Regions from separate parts of the Homo sapiens genome. Here region 2 is linked to region 1. The links are contacts of gene promoters, found by promoter capture Hi-C in blood cells and fetal thymus (Javierre and others, 2016). All regions are on one chromosome and are shown on one strand. Each heading gives the region's core, a stretch centred on a gene start or on the middle of the fragment in contact. The rest is flanking DNA. Distances are from core to core; before and after follow the strand shown. Region 1 holds the start of LINC02910 (long intergenic non-protein coding RNA 2910). Region 2 overlaps CDH26 (cadherin 26).

Region 1 (5,859 bases), core at 1,702-4,201:
TTTCATTAAATTAAACCCAAGGCATTTATATTCCCTGGGAATAACAGGCTGCTTATATATGGCGGGAATGTGCTGGAATTTCTTTAGAAATCAGCACATTGGCTATTGAGGACTAGCTGGTGATCACAGGTATAGGTTTTGAAGTTAGATTGTCAGGATTAAAATCCAGGCTCTGCCATTGCTGGCTGTGTGGTCTTGAGCAAGTTACATTACCTCTCTGTGTCTCGGCTTGCCCATCTGTGCAATTTGGACAGTAAGAGTTCCTATCTCCCAGGCTTGTGGTAAGGATTAAACACGTTCATGTAATGATCAACAAGGTTAACTATGAACATGCTCACAAAGACACACATGGGCTCTTCTGGCGCAATAGGGACGTGGCCTGGAAGCTCACTGCCACGTGGCATTTGGGACCACAAGGGATCAGACCTCATCGTCTGTGCACAGATAGACAAGATCATAAAGAGGAAAAATTAGCATCGGGAAACTGGTTATTTATTTAAGATTGAAAGCGGGAGAAATCTGCCCTGGACATCTTCCCCTCTCCTCTGTTTGTTTTGTCTGCCAAACAGAGGCAGTACCCCCTCTCCACTCTATTTATTAATTGAGTAAACTCCGTGATCCTAAATGCAAACAAACATGGGGCCAGCACAAACAAGCACGTGCTTCCTGTACGCGCCACTTCTGAGTAGCAGCCCGAGCAACAGGTGGACTGGCTGGGAGACAGAAACGGCTGCAGAAGGCGCCTCCAGGATTTGGCGTGAGAGCCCTGCAAGGTCAGCCCATGTGCTCCTTCTTTGTTAGATTGTTTGTTCATTCATTTGTTTATTCATTCCTTTATTCAAGTGTTTAGTGAGAACTTCCATGTGGAAGACAAAGACCTAGCTCACAAGGGGTGCATGGTCTAGGGAGCTAGGTGTGGACAAAGAGCCACGTAGGATGTCAGTGCTGAGATGTGGCAGCCACGGGGAGCTATGGAAGGGGGCAGAAAGAAGACCCCAGAGCTCAGGGAAGGCCTGCAGGGCAAGTAGGGAGTTGTCAGCCCAGCAAAGAGCCAAGAGTGTGAGGAGAAGGTCTGCCAGCGCCTGAAGGGGAGAAGCCATGGTTCACCAGCTTCAAGAGTTGATACAGTTGAAAGCATCATCTCTCCATGGCCAACATCCTGGGCTGTGGCTTTAATTTGGGCATAGTGTGTGCCTGCAAAACCTCGGCTGTATTCAACCTAGTCTGCCATTGATGGAGTGAGAACTGCCCCCAAATTATTTACATTCAAATTTGGAAGCAACTGAAACCCAACAGTAGGAGATTCATTACAGTAATTCCATGGAAATGGAATAATACGCTGTCGTTAAAAGTGTTCAAATCTTTTATGGTTATGATAAATCTAATAATAAAATCGAGACAATATTAGAATATATATTTTAACATTTTCCTAGTTTTGTGAAAAAAGCCCCAAATATCTGTATGAGCCTAGATAAATGACAAGAAAGGAAAACAGTAAGATTTTTATAATGGTTATTGCTCAATGGTTGGATTTTTAAAAATACTCTTCTATAATTTCTAAATTTTATGCCCTGAGGATGTATTACCTCCATAGTCAGAAAAATTATGAAAGGTATTTAAAACCCAAACTGGCTTTGGGCATGCAGAATGCTTGGTTATTTCTGAAGTATAAAAATAACTCCCCCTCTGTCCCATCAGCACGCGTGTTGCAGGGAGTCTGACGTTGCTCGCTAAGTCTCTTTGGTCGTTTCATACTAATGCCCTTTGCTCCCCTGATTATCTCTCTGAGGTTGGGGCCGGGGGATGGGGGTGTGCTAGGCCTCCTGGATGTCTGTCTGCTGCCAAAACATCCTCTCCTGTCTCTGTCTCATTGGTGCATTTTGATGAACCTGTATTGCCTGGTCACTGCGCGCTAACCACCAAATTATGAAACATTTGTGCTGCAAGGGAGCTGAGAGATCCTTAAACTCAATGAACCATTAGGCATAAGACACACACACACACATACACACGTGAATACACACAAACACACAAACAGCTTGGCTGCTCTGGGTGAAGCATGTGTGTGTTTGGGGGAAATTTCCTTCCCCACCCGTGGTCGTCCATTTGCCCATGAGCAGCTTCCGAGGCAGGTCCGTGGACCCCAACGCTGTGTAACACCGTGTGAAAAACACAAAGGCTTGCAGCCCTCTCACTGCAGACGTGGGAACACGACTCTGTTTAAAACCCTTCAAAGCCCGCCTTCTTGCCGTGTGATGCTGCCTGGGCCAGCAGGGCAGGTCACCACGCTGTCTCTTCAAAGCAGCTCGCTCATGCCCACAGCGCTGGGCACAAGGGCAGCCACGAGCTGTTTGATTTCTGCGTCCCCAGCAGATGGCTTGGTGCACAGGGGCAGGGCTCGTCTGTCCCTCTCACTGCTGCGTCCCAGGCTATGTCTCCACCATGTAACTTCAGACAAGTTCCTCAGCGTCTCTGTGTCCTGGTTCCCTCATTTGTAACATCAGGATATTGATAAGGATCATAGTAATAGGGATGTCCTTATGGGGCCTCATGAAAATGAAGAGTTCTCTGTGATGTGCCTGGAACCACAGAGGGCAGCAAGTGGGAGCCACAGAAAGTCATCTCTTTATCATAGTTGTCATTGGTAACTATGACGGTTATCAAGGGCAGGGGTCTCCCACCTTCTGCATCCAGGCCTTGTCATTCCTTATAAAATTTTCTCCTTTCAAGGACTTTCAATGCCCTGAAAACGGAATGCTCCTCCCTGCTCCCCATCAGCTGCTGCAGAGCCCTGAACCCCTTGAACTTGCCTTGCTTAGTTCTTTCAGGGGCTGCCTTGGATGCCACCTCACTTCCCTCTTCTTGGCTCTGTGGCTGTCAGAGGGGCTGGGCACTGGGTTACTTCATCAGTTCCTGGGTGTTGATCGGCAGGAAACAGTGGTTTCCTGTTCATATCCTGCCTGAGCCTGGGCCGGGTGGAGGTGTCCTGCATGGAGTCTTGTGAAATCGCGTGGACTGCAACACCCAGCAGCGCGGTGAGTCCACCCTGAAATCCACAGTGACCCACGCGGCATGTGCTGGGAATTGAACGCTTGGGGAAAGAGCTGGGCTCCAGCGGATCAGCCCCGACCAAGTCGTTCCCACAGCTCAGGACCGGACGCTACAAGCCCACTTTGTAGCAGTTTGGCGGACGGCAAACTTTTGCAACACAGTGCAAAAACCATTTAACACCTTTAAGGGAATTGGAAATGGGTTTTTCATGTGTGGTGGTGCTGAAAATTGAGAATAATGACAGAATTATTAAAAACAGCCTTCTCGGCCTTAGACTCTTAATTGCCTCTGGTCTGTAAAACTGACAAATAAGCACTGTAGAAGCCACAGATGAAATATGTCGTCTTGGGAGCCCTGGAGAATTGTCTCTGAATTCTTTTGTTTATGGATTGTAGAAACTGCTTTGGGGGTAGTTGGATGTAGAAGCAGAAGGACAGAGTGGGGAGCTGGGAGCAGGAGGCCTGGGTTTGTCTCCTGAGTCTGTTTCCACTGGGGCCTGAGGCTCCCGTGTGAGGGAACATGAATGGGCCAGGCACATGGGCCCTGTGGGGTGACAGAGCTGTGGGCTCCATGGTGGCTCTGTGGGCAGCTAGCTTGGGGATGGCTGAGATAAAGACAAGTAGTTTTCCTTCCTGCAGGACTTCTCAGAGCCTTTAGTGTGGTTATAATGATAGAAAACAGTATTAAGTCCATACCCTGAACCAGAAACAATGCTAAAAGCTTTGCACTTGGCCTTTTTTTTTCTTTTTCTTTTATCAACATGTGTGAGGACGGAAGCTTAGGCTTACAGATATGGACTCATTGAGAGTGAGTGGACGTGTCTGATCTTTAACCCAGTTCTGTCTGACCAAAAAGCCTGTGCTCTAACCACTGTGCACCCCTGCCTGTCTGTCCTGTTGAGAGAACTGTAGGGAAAGCCTTGAGATTATGTATCCAGTGCTCCCCTCCTCCTGATTGGAAGATGGCAGCTCAGAAGGTTAGGGTGCCTTCTCCTGTCCTCCGAGTGGTTAGATGCACGTGTCCTCTTCTGTCCTCTGCTCTTCCCACATCCCTCTCTCTCTGGTGCTCTGGTGGAGCCCCTGGGATCAGGGGTCACAGGAGCACCTGGGCCATTTGCATGGTTGTTGGTAAAGGGTGTTCCCCCACCCCCCATTAAGGTGCCTGCCATCAAAGTGCCTTATTGCTTGAGTTCCAATCTCGGCTTCACAACTCTGTAGCTGTGTGACTTTGCACAATGTACTGAGCCTCTCTGTGCCTGAACATCCTTGTTTGTAGATAGTAAAGATAATTGTCCCTTACTCCTAGGTTTCACATTGAGTGTTTAGCAAGTTAACGTTTGTAACGTGTGAAGTCATAAGATGCAGGACTGGATGACTGCCCTACCCACAAGAGGCCTAGGATCTTCCCAAGTTGCACTACTTATGGGACAGGTCTGCCAAGCAGCCCTTGTGAAGATAAAGGTGGTGATGAGTTCCTCCCACAAAACAAGAGCCTCAGAGAGACTGGAAAATAACCCCCGGTGCCTTTTATCAACTGGCCAGCAGATGGCAGAAGCAAGCCAGGAACAGAGCTTGTGTGCGGCGGCTGTGGCAGCTACCTTTGAAAATCCCGTGGTGTTTGGTGGTCGTATTAAGAGATCTCTGGTGTAGGAGCATCCTTCATTCTAAGCAGGATTCTGAACAAACTCAGAACTGGCTTTGTGGCTGGTACCGAGGACCCAGGGGTCACGGCTGCTCCCAGTGGGTGCTGATGCCCATTTGTTTGTGCAAGTTGGTCCCCTGTAGGGAGGACAGATGGTCTGTCTCGGACTTTCTGGCCTGTGCACCAAGGCCCAGGGATGGAAGTGGGGCAGCATGTCCCCATCATTAAATAGGGCGTTCTTGATAATAATCCCATAAGGCCTAATGTGATGGGTGTGGTCAATCATTCATTCATTCTGTGAGGATTCAGTGAGCAGCTACTCCATGCCTCTAGGCTCTGAGGACGCAGCATGAGAAACACACGGAAGGCCCACGATGACCAGGGAGCTCGCCTTCCAGGGAGAGAGGAGAAAAATAAATGGTAGGGAGTTAAACACGACAAAGTAGAAAAGGGCCAGCTGCAAGAATGAAATTAAATAGGAGGCTGGTGGCAGGGGGGCAGGGAAGCCTGAAGCACCTGACTGCCCAGAACAAGCCGCACCTGTGAGGAGCTGGGAAGGGCACTCCAGGCAGAGGGAGCACCAGAGCAAACCCTGGGAGGGGGATGAGCCTCTTGTTGAAGAACTAGAAGGAGGCCAATGTGGCTGAGCAGAACACATGAGGCGGAAGGAGGAAGTGAGGGGCCCTGGGCCTGGCCACCAACCGGCAGATCAGGGGTGAGGACTCCACTTGGGAGAGTGTGAATGGCCCAGTGTGAATGACAAAGCAGTTTCATGCAGCTCAGCCTGTCTGGCTAAGTGCGCAGCCCTGAGGATTGGGCTCTGAGCGTTGCAGCCCTTCTGAGTCTGTGGGCCCCTCTCCCAGGAGGATCAGGTTGCCCAGGGCAGCTGGAAATGTCCTTAAGTGACTCCTTGCTGCTGCTGCCGCTGCGTCTTGCTGACATCATTTCCCCGCAACAAGCGCTGGTCTCCTGGGGCGGCTGCCCCCTCTCATCTGCACATCTAGCTCCCCTGCCAGGCCTGTGCTGTTTTCCGGGGCCTCACAGAGAAGCTCAGGCAGGTGGAGCCTCAGCAACAGGCGCCATCCTCCCCTTCAGCCTGTCGCGGCTCCTCCCTGGGGCATGCTTGAAAGCCCAGACATGTTCTTCACATCTGAGAAAGCAGTTAAA
Region 2 (5,859 bases), core at 1,614-4,113, 52 kb before region 1:
GGCTTTTTCCACCCGACTCTATTTCCATCTATAGAACTAGGTATTATTATTGGTGATGGCTGCTGTTTTTAGAGTTGTTTGATAATCCTGATCAAATATGACACTTTTTAGAGCATCCACAAATAGATACATTTTCTCATGTCCTTCTAAGGGCACCAGAGATCATCTATAAAGTTAAAAGCACAGCACTTTGGCCCTGACTAAATTCCAGCCCAGTGACTGCATGCTTCCAGCGAAAGGGAGGCCTGACTTCCCATCTGTGTTGTGTCTTCTTGTACTCTACATACAAATTCCAGGACTATTGCTTTGTGAAATGACTTTTTCTGAAATAATTTTAGACTAAATAGAAGTTGCAAAAATAGTTTGGAGAGTTCTTGGGGGTCCCCCAAATATACCATCTTATGTAACCCTACTCCATGATCAAATCAGAAAATGGGCTTTGGCACAACACTGTGAGTACAGTTCTCAGTCACAGACCTTATTTGGACCTCACCAGTTTAACTAGCCATTATTTAACCAAAATGTACTTTTCTGATATAGAATTAAAAGAGGTATTCAGGGTCTAAAGAGCCATAGAATCATATCCAATTTTTATGAGGGAAAGCTTCTAAAATAAATTCAAGATCTCTATAATTTCATATCTTTGCACAGGCAGTATCTGAGCAAAGATGAAAACATGATGTTCTTCTTTGCACAAAGATGATGCCACAAATCCATCACTGAAGGGCTCCCGCATTGATGAATGTTGGGTTCCATGTCCTTGCAGCTGATCCTTCTGGTCCTGTTCGGGCCAGCTGCATGGACATGGAACACCCACCATGGCACAGGGCCTCCCACTCTAAAGAACCTCTGCTTGGTTTAATATTCTACTGTCACCATCTTGAAATTCTTAATTTTTGAACAAAGGGCCCCCAACTTTCATCTTGCACTGAGCCCTGAGAGTTGTGCCGCTAGGCCTGGGTCCTAGGAGTGGATGTGTGTCATTTGTTTGTATTCAGGGCATGGCCATGGCAAAAGGAAATCTTACTGGGTGTTAATGGACCCAAGATAGAGCTTGCAAATCTAATATTCTCATGTTCCTTCTTCACAAAGCAACTGTGAAACTTGTTCATGAATTTCTGCTATGAATATCTACACTCTTTAGAATTACTATACCTTTAGTACAAAAATGAAAGGCAATATGACTGCAAGAATTTCTAGTTATGTATTTGCATCCTTTGGTAATTTATTTGAAATCAGTAAATATTTCATCTTTCTTTAAGGGTTATGGCAAGCCCTTTGAGCCAAGAAGTGTGAAAAACATACACTCTACTCCTGTAAGTATAGATGTAGGTGTTACCGTGAACAAATTTACCTTATTGTTCTGCCTAAAAGCTGTGCAAATCCCTGAAAATTGGAAATTTGGAAGGAAAGAGGTGATAAAAAAAAATATGCCCAACATCCAAGCAAACTGAAGGAGAAGCGAACGTGAAGAGAGGTTGGAAGTAGTTAAGGCACATTTATCCCGTGACTCGAGGGCATAAGAGCTTTTCAGTCCCTGGCAAATTTCTTTTGCTGTTGAGTTGCTAAGACCTCAGTCATAGGCTGAGTTTTCTGCTGTGCTTTGTCACAGACCTATAGAAATTTTGAGCTAAGGGGGTCTTAGACATCATCTAGTCAATTTTTTTTTCTAAATATGTTTTGCACCAGAATTCTTCTTTTCAAATGAGATCCTACAAATAACTCCATTGTAAATAAAACATCTAAGTACTAATTTTGTATGCATTGACATTAATGACATATACCTATTACCAAAATAGCCAATAAAAATAATGATTCTGATGTAAACAGAAGGAAGTTGAATGTTGTGGATATAGTTTGCAAAATTATGTTAACTTAACACCTAATTCATTGCCTCGCATTATTATAAACTGGTTTTTAAAGTATCAAGAAAATTTTGATATATACCAACAAGCAGTTTCAAATCTTAATGGTTTTTGAATAGCTCAGTTTACAATGTTAGGATTCTCTTTGATTAATGAAACATGGGACCAAAAGCTTCATTTGAGTTGCATAAAAGCTAATTAACATGGCATCCCAAATTTACATGTTGGTGTGGGAGACTAAAAAAGATGTAAACCACTTTCTGTTATATTATAAAAATAATATTCAATATTGTTATTGAAATAATTTGTAAATAATGAAAATAAATTTCAAATACTCTAGCTGAAGTATCTTTGAGGAGTCGTAGGCCCTGGGGATAGAGTTAAACCAGTGGCTAAGTCCACAGAAGCCCAGAGAGGAGAGATAGTGCTCTCTCAGCCACAGTGCAGCCATACATAGTGTGGGGTTAGGACCTGAAGCTGGCTTGAGGCAAAATCACCCCAAGTCTACCTCGGGAAGGAGCCAGGCTGGAAACTGACACGGCGTCTTCCTCTGGTCCTGGATGAGCCCCATGCTTGGTCAGTGAGCATCTGGTGCAAGGGTACTTTGTACATAGCCCACATCTTAAGGGTCCTCCTCTGAGAGGCCCCTGGGGCTAAACAGACTGAGGGCACAGCATCTCCAGTCAAGTGCTCCCAGCACTGGGAACCAGGCAGCAGGGTCCCTAGGGCTGCTTGTAGTGGTCCACACCTTGCCTCTTTGGCTTAGTATGTTTGGTTCAGCTTACCTTGGTATGATGTGGCTTCACTATGTGTACACACATGTGTATATGTACAGTCATGTCTGGCTTAATGATGGGGATACGTTCTGAGAAATGTGTTGTTAGGTGATTTCATCACTGTGTAAACTTCATAAAGTGTTTTACACAAACCTAAATGGTGTAGCCTACTACACACCTAGACCTCTTGGTGTAGCCTGTTGCTTCTAGGCTACAAACCCGTACAGCATGTGACTGTACTGAATACTGTAGGCAATTGGAACACAATGGTGTTTGTGTATCTACCTACACAGGCCAGGGCGCCGTGGCTCACGTCTGTAATCCCAGCACTTTGGGAGGCCGAGGCAGGCGTATCACGAGATCAGGAGATAGAGACCATCCTGGCTAACATGGTGAAACCCTGTCTTTACTAAAAATACAAAAAATTAACTGGACGTGGTGGCGGGCGCCTGTAGCCCCAGCTACTTGGGAGGCTGAGGCAGGAGAATGGCATGAACCTGGGAGGCGGCGCTTGCAGTGAGCCAAGATCGCGCCACTGCACTCCAGCCTGGGTGACAGAGCGAGACTCCATCTCAAAAAAAAAAAAAAAAAAAAGAAAAGAAAAAAACACCTACACATAGAAAAGGTACAGTAAAAATACAGCATTACAGTCTTATGGGACCAGCTTTATATATACGGCCTGTCATTGAAATGTTATGCCGTGCATAACTGTATGTATGCATGTGTATATAGATAGATATGTGTATTCAGTTGACCCTTGAACAATAGGAGTTTGAACTGTGTGGGTGCACTTATATGTGGGTTTTCTTCTGCCTCTGCCACCCCCGAGACAGCAAGACCAACCCTTCTTCTCCCTCCTCCTCTTCATTCTACTCAGAGAGAAGACAATGAAGATGAAGACCTTTATGATAATCCACTTCTACTTAATGAATAGTGAATATATTTTCCTTAATGACATTTTCTTTCTTCTAGCTTACTTTGTTATAATATAGTATATAATACATATGACATACAAAATGTGCATTAATTGACTGTTTATATTATTGGAAAAGCTTCCAGTCAACAGTAGACTGTTAGTTGAGTTTTCGGGGAATCAAAAGTTATAGGCATGTTTTCAACTGTGCAGGGTCAGCACCCCTAACCCCCACATTGTTCAAGGGTCAACTGTATATGTATATGTCTATATGTCTATATGTATATGTATAGAAGCATGTACATGTACAGAGGCATGAGTATGCATATATGAACATGTGTATGTTTGTCTGTATATGTGCATGTGTATATATCTGTATGTATGTATGTATGTATGTATGTATGTATGTATGTGTATATATAGCCTCATGGACATACATAATTGCCCCAGGCTTTATCATATTTTACATATGTCTTCTGGAACCCAATAAGTATCCCTAAACCCAGGTAAGATCAGAAGTCATCTCAGCCATAAAGGCCACCAGTGATTAAAAACACAAATTGTATGTCACTCTCCAATTTAAGACTTCCTGTTGGCTTGCCATTGCACCTGGGATAAAGTCTACAACCTTATGACCTTAAGGGGATCCTCCCTCCAGGGCTGCTTTGCAGAACCCAGCCTAAGACAGACCTATGTCTTTAATGTCCTGTGAGACCCTCTATCACATGGCCTTTGCTCACGTATGGCTTCAACTTGCTCTGAGCCTCCCCCCACCTCCCTAACCATCCCAGCACCCCACCTCTTTGGGCTCCAGCCACAGAACACGCCAAGTTCCCTCCCTGCTTAGGGCCTGTGCTGTTTCTTCTCATTGGAATTCCCTTCTGTTCCATGGCCCTACAACTTCCTCCTCCTGAGAACTCCCTGCTCTCAACTGGGTGAGATCCCCTCTTAAACCTTCCCTTGGTGATCAGTCTTACATTTACCGCCACTCTTGGGTGCTTGCCTTGCACCTGCGTGAGCTCGACAGTGAGGCCCCAGGTGCTTTGCTTGCCTCCAGGCCAGCCTGACTCACATGATTTAGTGGTGGGATTTGTGAGCCCCCAGATAGCCACTCCTTCCAGTAGATGCCAAGCCTGTTTCCTACCACTGTATCCTCTGCCCTTAGATAGCACAGAGACCCAGATCCACAGACATGGGCCAGATGAGCAGGAGACTGCCAGCAGCCCATCATGGGAAACAATGGGCAGGTTCAGAGGAAGAGAAGCCAAAATGAGCGAGGAGGGGCAGTGTAGTTGAGGGGGTGCAAGGCATGAGTGAGGGTGTCAGCAGGAACAACCCTCCTGGCCGGGCTCACTTGGGTTCCTTCCTCACTGAAAGTTTGTTTCAGCCCAGGCATTGGAAAGTCTAGCCATGAGAGCTTGCAGGGCCTCCCTCTCTCCCCCAACACAAAGAGAGGAAACGTGAGCAAACTACCCTGGGCCTGGCTCTTCACCTCCAAGAGAACGGTGCTCAGTGTGCCCCATCTATGCTGGGGCCACTGACACACAGGGGTTGGGGGGTAGGACAAGGGCTCTGCTGTGGTATGAAGCTCTACTGGTTTGCTTGCAGGCTTACCCAGATGCCACAATGCACAGACAACTCCTGGCTCCGGTGGAAGGAAGGATGGCAGAGACATTGAATCAGGTAGGGAGAGCTCCCCTTGTGCTGTGCACTAGCTATGGGTTTTGCATCCCCACTGTGCTCCAGGCTTGATTTGGGGACACTTCCTCCTAAATCACTGCATTAGTCAGCTAAGGCTGCCATAATAAAATACCATAGCCTGACTGGTGGCTTAAATAACAGAAATATATTGCCTCATGTTTCTGCAGGCTAGAAGTCCAAGGTCAGGGTTCCAGCATGGTTGGGTTCTGGTGAGAGCTCTCTTGCTAGCTGGCAGATGGCCACTTTCCCGCCGTGTCCTCACATGGGATGGAGAGAGAGATACCAAGCTCCCTGGTATCTCTTCTTATTAGGGAACTAATTCCATCATGAGGACTCTACCCTCATGAGCTCATCTAAACCTAATTGTCTCCCAAAGGCTCCGTCTTCAAATGCCATCACATTGGGGTTAGGGCCTGAACATATGGATTTGGAGAGGGAACACAATTAAGTCCATAGCAATCACTTTCATGGAAATCCTCCATCCAGTGCTGCTTTGCAGAACCCAACTGAAGACAGAATTGACACAGCACAGGCAAGCCCCAAAACTGGGGATTAGCCCAGGAGGGTTTTGGGAAATAATTCAAAGGTGAGGTGGAGGTGTTAG

Evidence for each region. Contacts are between HindIII fragments. The CHiCAGO score rates a contact against its expected background, and 5 or more counts as called.
Region 2: a contact is called between a fragment that was not itself captured here and the fragment with the promoter of LINC02910 in region 1, in 1 of 17 cell types (neutrophils). The highest score is 5.2, in neutrophils.

What each region holds. Positions count from the first base shown.
Region 1 is chr20:60,052,974-60,058,832 of GRCh38, forward strand. LINC02910 (long intergenic non-protein coding RNA 2910) reads left to right here and starts at 2,952. Exons shown (of 4, transcript NR_161293.1): 1 at 2,952-3,035. RefSeq lists enhancers at 4,640-4,689, 4,700-4,879, 4,975-5,776, 5,483-5,732. The HindIII fragment of the contact is 13,245 bases long and covers 1-3,769 here.
Region 2 is chr20:60,001,551-60,007,409 of GRCh38, forward strand. CDH26 (cadherin 26) reads left to right here. Exons shown (of 18, transcript NM_177980.4): 16 at 1,263-1,316; 17 at 5,163-5,237. Among named protein-coding and RNA genes, the nearest start is that of CDH26, 46 kb to the left of the region's middle. The HindIII fragment of the contact is 1,656 bases long and covers 2,036-3,691 here.